Regions from separate parts of the Homo sapiens genome. Here region 1 is linked to region 2. Evidence: promoter capture Hi-C in human tissues and cell types (Jung and others, 2019). All regions are on one chromosome and are shown on one strand. The core of a region is centred on a gene start or on the middle of the fragment in contact, and the rest is flanking DNA. Distances in the headings are between cores, read along the strand shown.

The links. Contacts are between HindIII fragments. The study calls those that stand out against the background at their distance.
Region 1: a fragment that was not itself captured here is called in contact with the fragment with the promoter of ROBO1 in region 2 in 3 of the 25 tissues and cell types used here (H1 embryonic stem cells, liver and pancreas).

What each region holds. Positions count from the first base shown.
Region 1 is chr3:79,801,991-79,808,576 of GRCh38, reverse strand. No RefSeq gene overlaps it. Among named protein-coding and RNA genes, the nearest start is that of ROBO1, 37 kb to the right of the region's middle. The HindIII fragment of the contact is 3,008 bases long and covers 2,207-5,214 here.
Region 2 is chr3:79,766,467-79,773,715 of GRCh38, reverse strand. ROBO1 (roundabout guidance receptor 1) reads left to right here and starts at 5,718. Exons shown (of 31, transcript NM_002941.4): 1 at 5,718-5,964. The HindIII fragment of the contact is 15,501 bases long and covers 1-7,249 here.

The DNA of each region.
Region 1 (6,586 bases), core at 2,461-4,960, 37 kb before region 2:
ACCTCTAAAAACTGCTACTGAAGATACAGAAAAATTTTATTTTATGGTGATAATGGAGATTTTGACCACCAGTCCTCCATCACCATCACTGCAATACAATGTTTCTTATTGTCTTGCCCATCATCAGAAACTATGTTATGTGGGGGAAAAATGTTGATGAAAACATGTCATGTAATTTCATCTGACTTTCTCCACTCGTTTACTAGACTATCAGGTGCTACATCACAAAGACAGCAAATATCCCCTGGATTCCTGCGGAAGTGAATTCCACTATTTTACTTTTTTTTTCCATTCCTTATGCCTAATACTGGACCTAACATATATTAGAAGCTTACCACTTGTTTAAATGAATGAATAGTAAATATTTGAAATCATTGATAAAATTTTCAGAAGGGAAACGAACTCTGGAAATAACAAGAGGCTAAGGGAAGAGAAATTCCAACAGGACATTCCAGATTTTTAAAATTCTTTGGACATCACTTTCTTCAAATTACTTAAAATTAGCTTTACTTTCTTAAAATTCTAGAGTTTTTAAACATTAATTGGAGCTTGGAGTCCAAACAGCTTACGCAAAAGAAAAATACCATCTTTTCCCAGGACTCTGCCTTCCTTGGCATGATTCTTTAAGAGCATACAGACAGAGAGGGTCAGTGCAGTTGGGAGAATGATTGAAGCCACTTTTGATGAGAGCACAGTGAAAATCTAGGACAAAATGTTGATGCATGGAGTCTCACTCCTCCCTTTTTCCCCGCTGAGATCTCAAAAGCTGGACCCAGTATTAAAGTCTGGAGAAAAGAAAAGGGAGGCTGAGAGTCTGTGATAGAGAAGTCCATTAGATGGGATCTTGAGATGCATCTTAGGTCCTTCATTGGATTGGATTTGAGGATAGATAGTCTTCTGTTTACTTTAGGCATTTAGGTTTATAATTTAAAATGTAAATTTCAGGGGTAACACAAAGGAACCATGGGAACTAGTGTGGCTTGAGATTTAATTACGTACACAGATCTTTTTATGTTTTCACTACCTACATTTCTACATTTTGCAATTATTAAAACTCTTATTTTAGGCAGCTAGATCAGGAAAGCATTAAAAATAAAATGTCTGCGTGATTCATAACTAATACTTATAAAGGAGGAAATACAAATACTAGCTACTTCACAGGGCTTTGTAATCTTACCCACTTTTGAGTCCTAGCTCAGAAACATATTAGCTGTAGGAGTCTCAATTGACTCACCTATAATATAGAATTATAAAAATTTTTAGTTTGTAGTATGTGAAAATTAAACTATATCATGCCACTATGTTATGTGCTAAATAAATCGTAGCTATTTGTTTCTACCCTAATTCTAAAATTATTTGAGGCATAAGTATTTATTTTATTATTGGTTTTATTGTTATCATTGCCATTATTAGGCAGAAGCAGTGGAGTATTCTAGTTTACATGGATGATAATGGGTGCCATACTATATGGACAAATAAAACCGTTTGTAAATATAGACCAATATTTACCACTACCTAGAAAGCTCGCATGATATTTTATTCTGACAAAGTACTTGGTAGATTCTTTACGCCATTATTTATGTTCGTTATAATCCGTGATGATACTCTTGGCCTACTTTTAGTTGAATACATATTTTTGAGGATTTTACTTCAATGTTGATTATCATAGGTGTGAAATTCACAGAGATATTTACGTTATCTGTATTTGTCATTTTGCGAAAGGTTTATAAGATTTCTGACTAGCCTTTACTCCAATGTCATGAAACAGTGAGTAACCCCATAACCCTGGTCTTATTAGCCTCATGGTTAGCAAAACTAAATTAACTATCCAAGAGTAAGCTTACGTATGTATAATGTTAATCTAAAACCATAGTTCTTTGGGGCAAATTCTGTGTCTGATCAGTAATCTATCATGCTTAAAATAAATTGGCAACTGATCATGCCTCTACCACACGTTATCCCTTTTATGATAGTGTCTCTTATCTTTTCTACCCAATATTATGTCTTTCTTCTGTTTCATTCATTCTGCACATTACTGTTAGATGAATCTTTCCAAAACACTAGTTCCATCCTTCAAGACAAAACTCATATATCACTTTATCTGCAGGCCTCGCTGTGCTGCTTCTGGTTTAGGTATGCACATTTATATTACATTATTGTAACTTAAAGGTTGTATTGCAATAATTGATTCTAGACTACTCTTTAACATTGACTGCAGGGTTTGTGCAAGAAATGTTTATAGATAATTAATATAAATCTCCCAAAGAGTCAATATCTTCCCACCTTCTAAAGCGTAAAATCTATAATTTGTTACTGCCTTGCAAATCAATAAAATTCTGACCCAATTTATTTTATTCAATCTAGACTCATCTCTATCCCCAATTTTGTCACACCCTCTGACAATCTGGTCTTTGTCACATGATTTCCAGACCTGTAAATACTTTCCAACACCAAACACTTTTTTGAGAAATAAATCAATTGCCACATACTGTGTGAAGCATTTCCTGACCTTTCTACCATGCACTAATGTCTCGTCTCTAAACTTTTAAGCATGTAGCACAGTGCATCCAAGCTTGGCGGCTGTAGTCACTGTACCTGAGTAAAAACCTCTATGATTAGAGCAAGCTAACTAATATGTTATTGATGCAGTTACCATAGATGTTATCAGGAATGAGAAGATGCCTAAATCATAGCATGATGCTTAAATAAGATAAAGCATCCAGTAAAATTTAACTATTGTCATCACACTAAATGCATAAATTTAATATATAATAAAAAGTGCTTTCTCAGTCTAATACAACGCATTTTTTTCTAATAAGACTGTGAGCATTTCAAGAAGAGCTTACACTTCCTTTGTATACCTCAAAAAATGAAAAGAGGTTCATTCTACTCAATCCTTTTTACTGTGGGCCAACAAGTTAAAATGTTTTATAAAGTAACTGCTTAGTCCTTTTAATATTATGAAAGTCATTATCAAAGCCATTACTTTATTATTTCACCCATATATTTACCAAGAGCTCAAGATTTGGCTTCAAATCTACAAAACCGTTGATTTGGGTATTTTTCTAAAACAGTTTGTGGCACCATTTGTAAGGCTAGGTCACTTTCTTCCCATGGATGTATATTCTCTTCTAATTGCATTCATCAATTTTAAAAGCATAAGTATTCTAATATAGTTGAAGTCTGTTCATTTCTCTTGGCTTTTTCAGCAATAATAATGGAGAGGTTACATCAAATATTGTTTAATTTAATTTCCATATGGTGTTTGCTGGAAAACTGCAAGAGGTTCATGTAAGAAAGGTAAGTGCTTTATTAGAGGTAATATTTTAGTAATATGTACAAAGTAAGAAAATTGAAATAATAAGAATTTTACTAATAAATTCTTCTTTCATTATCAGCTGAGATAATTTTTCATATCAAAACAGAATCAGTAGCACTAGGAAGAAACAAAAAGATCATTTCAATACATCTTTACATGTTTTTGTAATTATGAAAGGGGATTATTTATTGAATGTTACAGTTAGAAGGAATCTTAATTATATAAATAAACATGTAATATGAACTTAATAATATCCCTCTTTTATATACTATGAAAAATAATTTTTTATTTTAATATATTTTCACTTATCTTCAAATATGTCATTTTAGAGTCTTATTTTTCCAGTATTTATTTTGTATTAGTACACATTTTGCCTCAATAGAAATTCTGTGAAAACCTGTAACCAGAATTCACATACAAACTTAGTTTTCAAATTGAAATTCTAAGCACAATCAAGGTCATTTAATGTACTGCTTTGGAAGGAATCCAGAAAAAGAGTGTGTCCTTTAGATTTCCTGGAAAATACCTCTGTTTCTGTAGAGGTAATGAAAATAGTTTTAGAATTATAGAATATTATAGTCTCGTTTACATAACCCTATCATTAATACATTATCAGCACTAAATTATGTAACGGCTAGCATAAATGTAATAATAAAATTTTTATTAGTTGTAGGAGTAAGTCTGTCTTAAAACAGGCTATGTACCATCTAAAAATGAATTATTATTTGGGAATTTTGATATATGTAAGTCTATTTTATGAAAAAGGGTCAACATTTAATGTTATTGTCCTTAACATCCATTTTGAAATTCCCTGGAAAACTTACTGGATTGTTCTGAGCTATTATTTTTCCTTATAGCTTGCTTTCTTAATTTTATCCATAACTATAAGGATTATGAATATTCATTTTGGTAATAGTTTATATGATTCATAAATAGTATGAAAATGATAATCCTCTTAATTATGAGCAGCCTGATCATCATTCTTTAGTGTCAGTGGTATAGACTTGGTTATTACACGTTCATTATTAATCTTTAAAATAAATATGTCCATCTTCTTTATGGACATTAATCCTATTACGATGATCTGTGGATTATAAAAACAGACCTCTGAATCAGGATGAAAAGAACCTGAGCATTAAAGAGGAAATAAATAAAAGGGTATTAGGAATTCAAACAAAATAACCAGAGATAATTAGAAAATTGAAAGTGAGGACAAAGTTCAAAGTGGAAAATTAGTAAGAACCTTCAAGTCATATGAAAATAACAGTCCAATGTAAACAGAAAATTTTCATTAGTAGTGCAGAAATAAAAATCAGAAGACTGAGGCAAGAGGAACTTACAACTAAAATAAAGCTTCCTTATAACACCATTTATTTTTCTCATCTGAACAATGCTGCACACATTGATTTCTAGAACAGATTAATTTTCTGAAATCCCCCAAACAAATGTGATCTTTCAAGAGCTAAAACAGCGTCCCATTTGCCTGAACCTGTTCTTTGGAAGTCTTTCATAATTAATTCCATTTTGTTTGACTTGACAGTAGATCCTAAAGTGATCTGCAGAATAAACTGTAGCATAACTTTTATCACCCACGTTGATGAAACACAGTATGAGCATACAGAAGTAATTAGTGGCAGGCTAAAAATTCATGCCTGTGGCTTAGAAATCTCAGAATTCAAAAAGGGATATAGTAATTTCATCCTATCTTTTGCGTTCTCCCAGAAAAATAATCCCAGGCTTCTTAATTCACAGGCAGAGAGCTTTTGCTAGTCACTTTAAGATAACATAATTTAAGTGAAAAGTTTAACTGGACTCTTTGGAGAGAGTTTTCTTTGCATTTGTAATTTTTCATGGAATGTTAATTTTGCCATTCATCTTTTTTGTTTTTCTTTCTGTCGTTTTGTTATTTATTTAAAAAATAATTTTATATAAATAAGAGACAGGAAACACTGGCATGAGATGGCAGATTTGAAGTCTCTTGAACCCAAAAAAAGCAGCTTAGTAATATTACTTTTTAAATCCCAGGTAACTCTACAAAGTCCCTTTAAGATTCTTGAATTATATTCCTCATTCTGGTACAATTTAATCTTCTTGGCTTTAAACTCAGCTTCTAGGACAGAATGACAGCCTCAGATCCATAATCAAAGTTTCTGGTAACTCAGCAGAGCCACAGGCCAAAATTCTCTCCCATGAGAGCAATGGGCTCAGACTCAAAGACAGCTCAGGAGATAGATTGCAATAAAGCTACTATTTCTTTTTCAGAACTATTCATTCTTAAATAAGAAAATGTTTGCGCTAAAACTCATGATCTCTAAAGCATAAAACTTCCTAACATTTTCCAATACTTCTAAACTGTCTAGAGGTTGAAAGGAAACTAAGTAGGAAAAATTCAGAGTGCTTTAATAAATAATTGTTGAATAAATGAATGAATGAAAAGCTTACCTAAAGATGATCACTTAATGACATTATTCAAGCTGAATTTGGTTGAAAAATAATGCATAGCTTAAATATCCTACAAACTTCCTTAGAAGGAAGCTCAGTAGAAAAAATCAAACATTAGTATAATGATATTCCCTTTATATTTGCCTACTGATCAACTAAAGAAGAAAACATATTTATCTTCTACCAAAGCAAGATTTCATCAGTCTGAAGCTCTCAAACTCCCTTATTTGATCATAAATGTTGAGAAAATATACTGTGCCATATCAGAATGGAATTATCTAAAATAAGACTTTTAGGACATAGTGGAATTGAGTCTTGACACATTTCATTTTTATGCAGCACCTTCTGATAGCCAGTATTATATAGAAACCCAAAGCCACTTGAAAATAGGACATGAACATAGAGCCTCATCATTAGAAATCCTATTCTACCATATAGAAGCAAGTTGAAACACACCTGGTACCTCCGGATACTGAGACTAGAGAATACAGAAATTAGGGCATAAGCAAGAGAGAAATGGTAAGTTAAGGGTGATTTTATTTTTAACTTCATACAGCTTGAAATATGGCAATTTTCCTATCAGTATTCTATACTAAAATGAATAGTTTAATAATATACCTTAGCTCTAGAAGAATAGCACTTATCTAAGGGATATATGCTGTTGCTAATAGTACAAGTTCAACCTTTTTCTCAAATAATGCTGTGACCTACTTCTCTTCAACTGCTGTGGTTCATGCAATATATGTCCATTGCAATATCCCGTACCATTAATGGCCATGACTGTAGGAGTATATGTGCTAAGTAGTTCATAAGTTGAACTACTTC
Region 2 (7,249 bases), core at 4,469-6,968:
GTCAAGTCAAAAACAAAATCCAAACTGCCTGTACAGGCACATCATGGGTGATCAGGCCATGCTTCCACTCAGGGGGAGTGGGCTAGTTCTAAAGACCAGTCTTACCAAATTTCAGATGTCTGGACTCCAAGTGTCACTTCCTTCCCGGTGTTCAGCCACTGCATTGATCTTCCATGGGGGCCTGCCACAAGCTGTTCTGGTGAGGCATTCCACTGGGGCAACTGCCTACCAGGGAGCGCTCTCAGGATCCACATCACTCTAGCTGGCTGGAGTCCCCTGCAGGGATGCTCCACAGGGCAGGCCTAAGCTGCCTAAGGGGCTGCCTCAACCTTCGGCTAATCACCTCGCTTCCAGGTCAGGGAACCAAGACAGGTCAGGGAACCAAGAAATGTAGCAGGACAAGCCGCAGACAAGAACACTTCAGACACTGAGTTATAGAAGGAAAGGGCTTTATTCAGCTGGGAGCATCGGCAGGCTCACGTCTCCTAAAACTTAGCTCCCCCAGTGAGCAATTCCTGTCCCTTTTAAGGGCTTACAATTCTAAGGGGTTCCACGTGAGAGGGTCGTGATCCATTGAGCAAGCAGGGGGTACGTGACTGTGGGCTGCATGCACCAGTAATCAGAATGGAACAGAACAGGACAGGGATTTTAATGATGCTTTTCCATACGATGTCTGAAATCTATAGATAACACAAGCAGTTAGGTCAGGGGTTGATTTTTAACTACCAGGCCCAGGGCTCAGTGCTGGGCTGTCTGCCTGTGAATTTCATTTCTGCCTTTGTAGTTTTTACTTCTTCTTTCTTTGGAGGCAGACATTGGGCATAAGACAATATGAGGGGTGGTCTCCTCCCTTAACTGAATGAGTAAGTGATTCATAACTTTAATGTTAGCTTTTGAAGTTGGTCCAGGACAAAAGCAAATAACGGAATATGATTAAATTTAGCTACCTAAGAATTATGGTATACGAATAAAAATATAGTTTAAAATTATTTCTGTCTTATTATGCTTTATAAGCAAGTCTTTGGGAGTCTTTAAAAGAGATCAAATGAATAGCCTTTAAATACATTAAAGTTTGGTTAGATTTCCTTCTAAATAGTGTAAACAGTTGTGTCTTTTGAAGGGCAAACCATGAAATCTGACCATTAACTTTCATATAACATACAGAAAATTGTTGTTCAGCTCTTAATTAGTGGAGTAATGGTGGCATAATATTGTATATATGTATATTTATATTCATTTATTTGCTCTAATTCAAAATTTATCTGACATTTTACATAGGTTTAAATTTTTTGTCTGTTTTCACAAAAGTATGTGGAGCTTTTATTCCCAGATTTCTTAGGACAATAGGTAGAAATCTTAAGAACTTCCTGTTCAAATTTAAAATTATCTATTAACATTTTCTCTAATCTGGAAAGTCTATAGTAGATGCCAACCCTATTTCGTGTTTGTGTTGTTTTGCCAAAGTATTTTACTTCCACACTTTTATTGTCAACTTTTATCTTGTTTGCTTTATAATCTTGTTTGCTTTATAATCTTGTTAATAGTAGAAAATATCCTCTTCTAGCCTCTTTCTTTGCAAATTTTTATTGGAATTTTAATATGAGCATTCCATTTATGGTGATCATCTTAACCAAATCACTGTGCCATGAAGTTCTCATCCCTTCCACTTAATGTCAAGTTTAATTGACCTTTTTGAAGTTCTATCTTTCTTCTCAAACGTATCATCTTATATAGATATTTTTAACACTTGAGCTGTACTTTCTTCACCTACTTTAGCAATTCATACAGATTAGTTTTGAGCCATGTATTTAGATGTGGTGTCTTGCAACATATATATACACATATGTGCATATATATGTGTATATGTACAGATGTGTATACATGCGTATATATACAGATGTGTATATATGTGCATATGTGCATATATACAGATGTGTATATATGTGCATGTATACATGTGTGTATATGTGCATGTATACATGTGTGTATATGTTGCATGTATACGTGTGTATATGTGCATGTATACATATGTGTGTATATGTGCATGTATACATATGTGTACATATGTATATGTGTATATATATATGTATATTTACGTATATGTGTATACATGTGTATATATACGTATGTGTATACATGTGACTATATACGTATATGTGTATATATGTGTATATATGCGTATATGTGTATGCATGTGTATATATGAGTATATGTGTATGCGTGTGTATATATGCGTATATGTGTATACATGTGTATATGTGTGTATATATGTGTATATGTGTATATATGTGTATATGTGTGTATATAAGTGTGTATATACATATATGCGTATATGTGTGTATATACATATATGCGTATATATGTGTGTATGTACATATATGCGTATATATGTGTGTATGTACATATGTGTGTATATGTGTGTATGTACATATGTGTATATGTGTGTATGTACACATATGTGTATATATGTGTATGTACATATATGTGTATATGTGTGTATGTACATATATGTGTATATGTGTGTGTACATATATGTGTATATGTGTGTGTACATATATGTGTATATATGTGTGTATATATACATATATGTGTGTATATATGTGTATATATACATATATATGTGTGTATATATATATTGCTGTTTAGTACTGATTTACACTTTTAAAGATGCCTGTTTAGCTGTTAACATTCTTTATATTTCTGCTTTCAGAATATAATTTATATGTCTGGTAGTTTTCCTTTTCATCTGTCAAAATCAAGCATGGATAAATATTCTATTTAAAGAGACACATAGATCAATGCCTGTGGCTTTGAAATTTTTTAAACTATACATATTTCAAAATTACTCAAGGCAGAATTTTTTAAATAGCTTGGATAGTAGCTGAATGTCATTATATTTCATTAAGTTTTATCAAGTGGCATGCTATTGCGTGTTTACCCACCTAAATTTAGAAAGGAAGCTGATTGTAGTAATGACAGACAGGGATATGCCATGTATGTTTTGCTTTCCAACTTTTATAGATGTTCACAGTAACCACAATAAGGCATTGTCATCATGATCCAAGGACATAATGGATATCAGTTTCTGACATAGCATATATTGTCCTTGAAAATTGCACTGACAAAATGAGGGGTCCAACAATACTTCAAATAATAAAGAATAGATCAAGGATATTCCTACAGATCTAGGATATATGAAAACTATTGTGGTTCTAATATCCTTCTTTAAAATATGTTTTGCCTTAGTATCCAAGAAGTAAGGAAAATATATTTGCAACATTTACAACTATATATTTATTTTATATATATATATATATATATATATATATATATATATATATACATCTCATATGGTAATAATTTGGATAAACAAGTAATTTATTGAAGAGATGTAGAAAACTTTTTTAAAAAAATAGTAAGTTAAACTTAAGTTTCTGTTTAGCTTGCTATATTTTTACATCAGTCTTTTATATAGAAAGTAAAAACTTATCAAGAGATTATATAATAAATTTGTTATTAGGTCAGTTTTGGTTTATTTATTTTCTTCTGTTCACTATTATATGTGTCCACTATCAAACTTCCCCATTTAATTATGGTCATAGATAAGCTGCATTGATTTTGTATAAAATCTGTCAGCTTGTGTAAAACACATCTTTTCTCAGTTCTAAAATGATACACATTAAATGCAGAACTTTCAACTTGTAGTTGGGTTGCAAATGATTTTTTTCAGATCCCCTTGTAGAAAGAAGTTGAAACACCAATAATTTACTTGTTTTAGAAATAAGATGAATGTCAGTCATCTTTATTCAACTTTGCATGGTCATTATGCTTTTCTTACTATATGAAATAATAGCTTTTCTTTTCTTTTACAGATTAAAAAAAAGTCCTTTATACCCTTATACTGAATATTGCAACACTTTGGTATTTTCATTTTAACTCTATTGTAAATGGAGAAATTATTAACCTGAAGTAAAGTGATTGAAGTAACCCTGAATAAAAGTTATTCAAAAGCTATTTCAGTGACACAATAGCAATGGATATATACAGCAAATTGACTCTGATACAATGCCAATGATCACATCTTTTCACTCTGAATTAGTGATCATGGATATTTTTAAAAATATGTGTTTGGTGCAAACTTTGCAAATACACATAAAAATACTGGATTTTCTAATCCCTGAAAGAAACTCTCTTCTTTCACCTCTCAGTCGTGTAAGAGTTAACTCTGTTTCCTACAAGGATGCAATCTGTAAGTTAGGTCTGGAAGGCAGCAAAGGCAACCTGGACTTGAAGTTAACACTTCTGTTGTCAAGGGTTACTGATTGGGGGAAGGGAAGGGGCTGTAAAGGGAAAGAGTTACGGAAATGAAGAGGGATTGTAGCACACACTACATAAATTCAAATGCTTTACATGTATTTGGAATAAGATCTCGAGTCTGTTGTATTTTTGCATTGTGTTTTCATTTATTTAGTTTACACATAGGTAGTGAATTTATAGGTTGGTTGATGTTAACCTTATCCAGAGTGGCCCTTTCCAACAATGTTCATTCAGTTGTACATTACATATATGTAATAATTTTGTAATTAAATTGGAATTTATCACAATTATTTACATCAAAGACAATAAAATTATGTTACTTCCTAAATTATAATATCAGTAAATATCGTATCTAGGATTTTGTGGAAAGTCTATGTCATTTTAGTTTAAATAAGGATTTCTCTTTTCCTCCACAAAATTAAAGGTCAAAGAAAACAGCATGTTTAAGACTTCAAATTAATATATATTAAGATTCAGCATTTAATATTCTAATTCTTAAAATAACTGGCTTTACCGATGATGAACTAAAGTGATTTTGCACACTATTACAATATTTCAAATTGCTAGTCACCACAGGTCGGCCTCACTTTAAATCTCCTTGTTATGCCAATTTGCATTACTAATGAACTTGCTAAGAGAGAAACTGTAAAAAGATAATGTAGCAATTAATAGTAAATGCTTGACATACTGTGACATTATAATACCTTTATGTTGATTTATATCTTTATGTCAATATTTACAAGGAAAATATTTTTGAATTTCTAATTTTGCGAAGTAAAAATGATGCTGACGCCATTGTCATTGATGGAATTTTTTCTGTAGCATTTGACTAATATAACCCGTGTTTTATAATTGGTAGACTCATATTTTAGCTTCTACTATCTACTACCCATGTAAGGTATTTTATTTGTAGTAGCTATGAATTGTAAATACAATTGGGTGTTGTGTGTACCTACGTGAAGTGCAGAAGTATTTGATTATATAAAATTTCCTGGATTTATATGAGAATAATGCATAATAGAGAGCAAAAGAGGGTTTTCCTGCCAAAAGTGTCTGTGTGAATTTTCCTTCGAAAATGTTCTTTTAAAATCCTTTGTATGATCAAAGCCACTCCACACAGACAATTAAAAGCAGCTATGGAATGATAGATCACATGACAGGAGTTAAATGTAAGGGTTTTTTTTTTTTTTTTTCCTCCCCCCTCGGTTAAACATCGCAGCAGGCATTACAATACCAGAGGTAACGAATCAATTAAATCCATTTTCCCCTCGGCGTCTCCAAAGCTGCGTGCCTAGTGTTGCTGTGTAGTTTAGACCGGAGCAGTAGGACCCAGGGGCCTCCGCAGCCACCAATAGAAGCGCACACTTGGACCTATTTGTATGCAATGCCTTCTGCTCTGCGCATTAATAGTAATACAGATAACGGGTTTGAAAGAATTCTCTACTGAAGAAGGATTGAATTTTTCCAGGGTGCTGATACAGAGAAGAAACCCGACTTCACTCTCTCCCTATTTCCCCACTCTTAGGTTTAAAAGTCTGTCACCTTTCGCTTGGTTTAAACTCGGAAAGGTCTCAGTGCACAGCAAAGTTGCAGGGCTGCGTCTGCACTACGGAGCCTCTAGATTGCTGAAAACAGTCTTATGGAAGGGTAAGTCTCGGAAATGGTTGCAAGGGAAGTGACAGCTGGCTTTTGATTTGTAAAAGGGGACACGCTGGGTTTTACACTAGTGGTTGTTGGAGTGCAGAATGGTTGCCGAGAGGACTCTGCAGTTTATCCAGAAATTGTGGCTGATGCGCCAGGGTGTTTTGGGGTAGAATCAAAAACCTTCAGGCTAAATCGGAAATTGCAGCCTTGCGATCGGGAGGGATTCAACAAGTTTTCCTGCAGGGATGCGATGTTTGTTTCTTCCTTGCCAGTTGTGCAGAGTGTCCGTTCCAGGTAGGCTGCGGCTGCTTAACAAAGAAGTTTTGGAATTTGTTTGTTGTGTGTGTGGCTGGGCTAACCCTTGTTGGAGTAGGTTTCGTGCCGCTTTTGGCTTCTTGGGGGCACACAGCGGAATTTGCTCTAGGGATGCGGCGAGCATCAGCGGTGTAGTGGGCTGGGGCCGGGCAACTTTGCAGCCTAATCTCAGTGCCGCTGACCGCACCGTTGTTCGTGATGTGAGCTGACTGAGGCATAGACACGGGCAGGCTGCAGGGAGCTTCCAAACTTTGAAAGCATTCTCCAGGAATGGATGCGCGTGGGGGCTTTGAAAATAAGCGTTACTAGGTGGATTTTGGTAAACTCTTGGCGGTATGTAGGCAGTGGGGACTTTTGACACTTGCATTTCCAACCTGCAGGATTTTGCTTGAAAACATGGTGCTGATGTGAAGACGAGAGCTTAAAGCTAAGCCAGCGGGGACTTTGAGGGAGGAAATGAGGGAGGGAAGGAGGAAGAATGAGAGAAGACAGATGAATGAAAAAGGTGCGTCCCATCTTTCACACACAAAAACCACACGAGTGGGACGAACCAGGAAGCGCTCCAGTTGGTGGCGTTTAGCTGGAAAACGTATTGCAGGGAGGTCCAGGAGCCTCTGCATTATTGATGAAACGCCGTGCCCTTCTGGGGCCCCTTCTTGCTCCTTCTCCCTGCCCCATCTTGCCAGCCCCGCTTCCATGAGCCTTCGGTTCCAGCGTTGGCGCGGGTGCGGCTGCGCGCGCGGCTGGGTCCCACAGCTCTGAGAACACAATGGGGAGAAGCAGGCGAGCCCTGCGGGCGGCCGATGCGGAAAACTCGGCGTGGCAACCCCACTGCTGCAGCCTGGGCTGCCGCTCCACCCGGGGCAGCGGCGCTGCAGAGACGGCTTCTGCCCAGTTGCCACGCGCCCTGAGGTCTCGGAGGACCGCGTGGAGGGCGCTCACACCTGGCCGCTAAAATCCTGGGATACCCTTC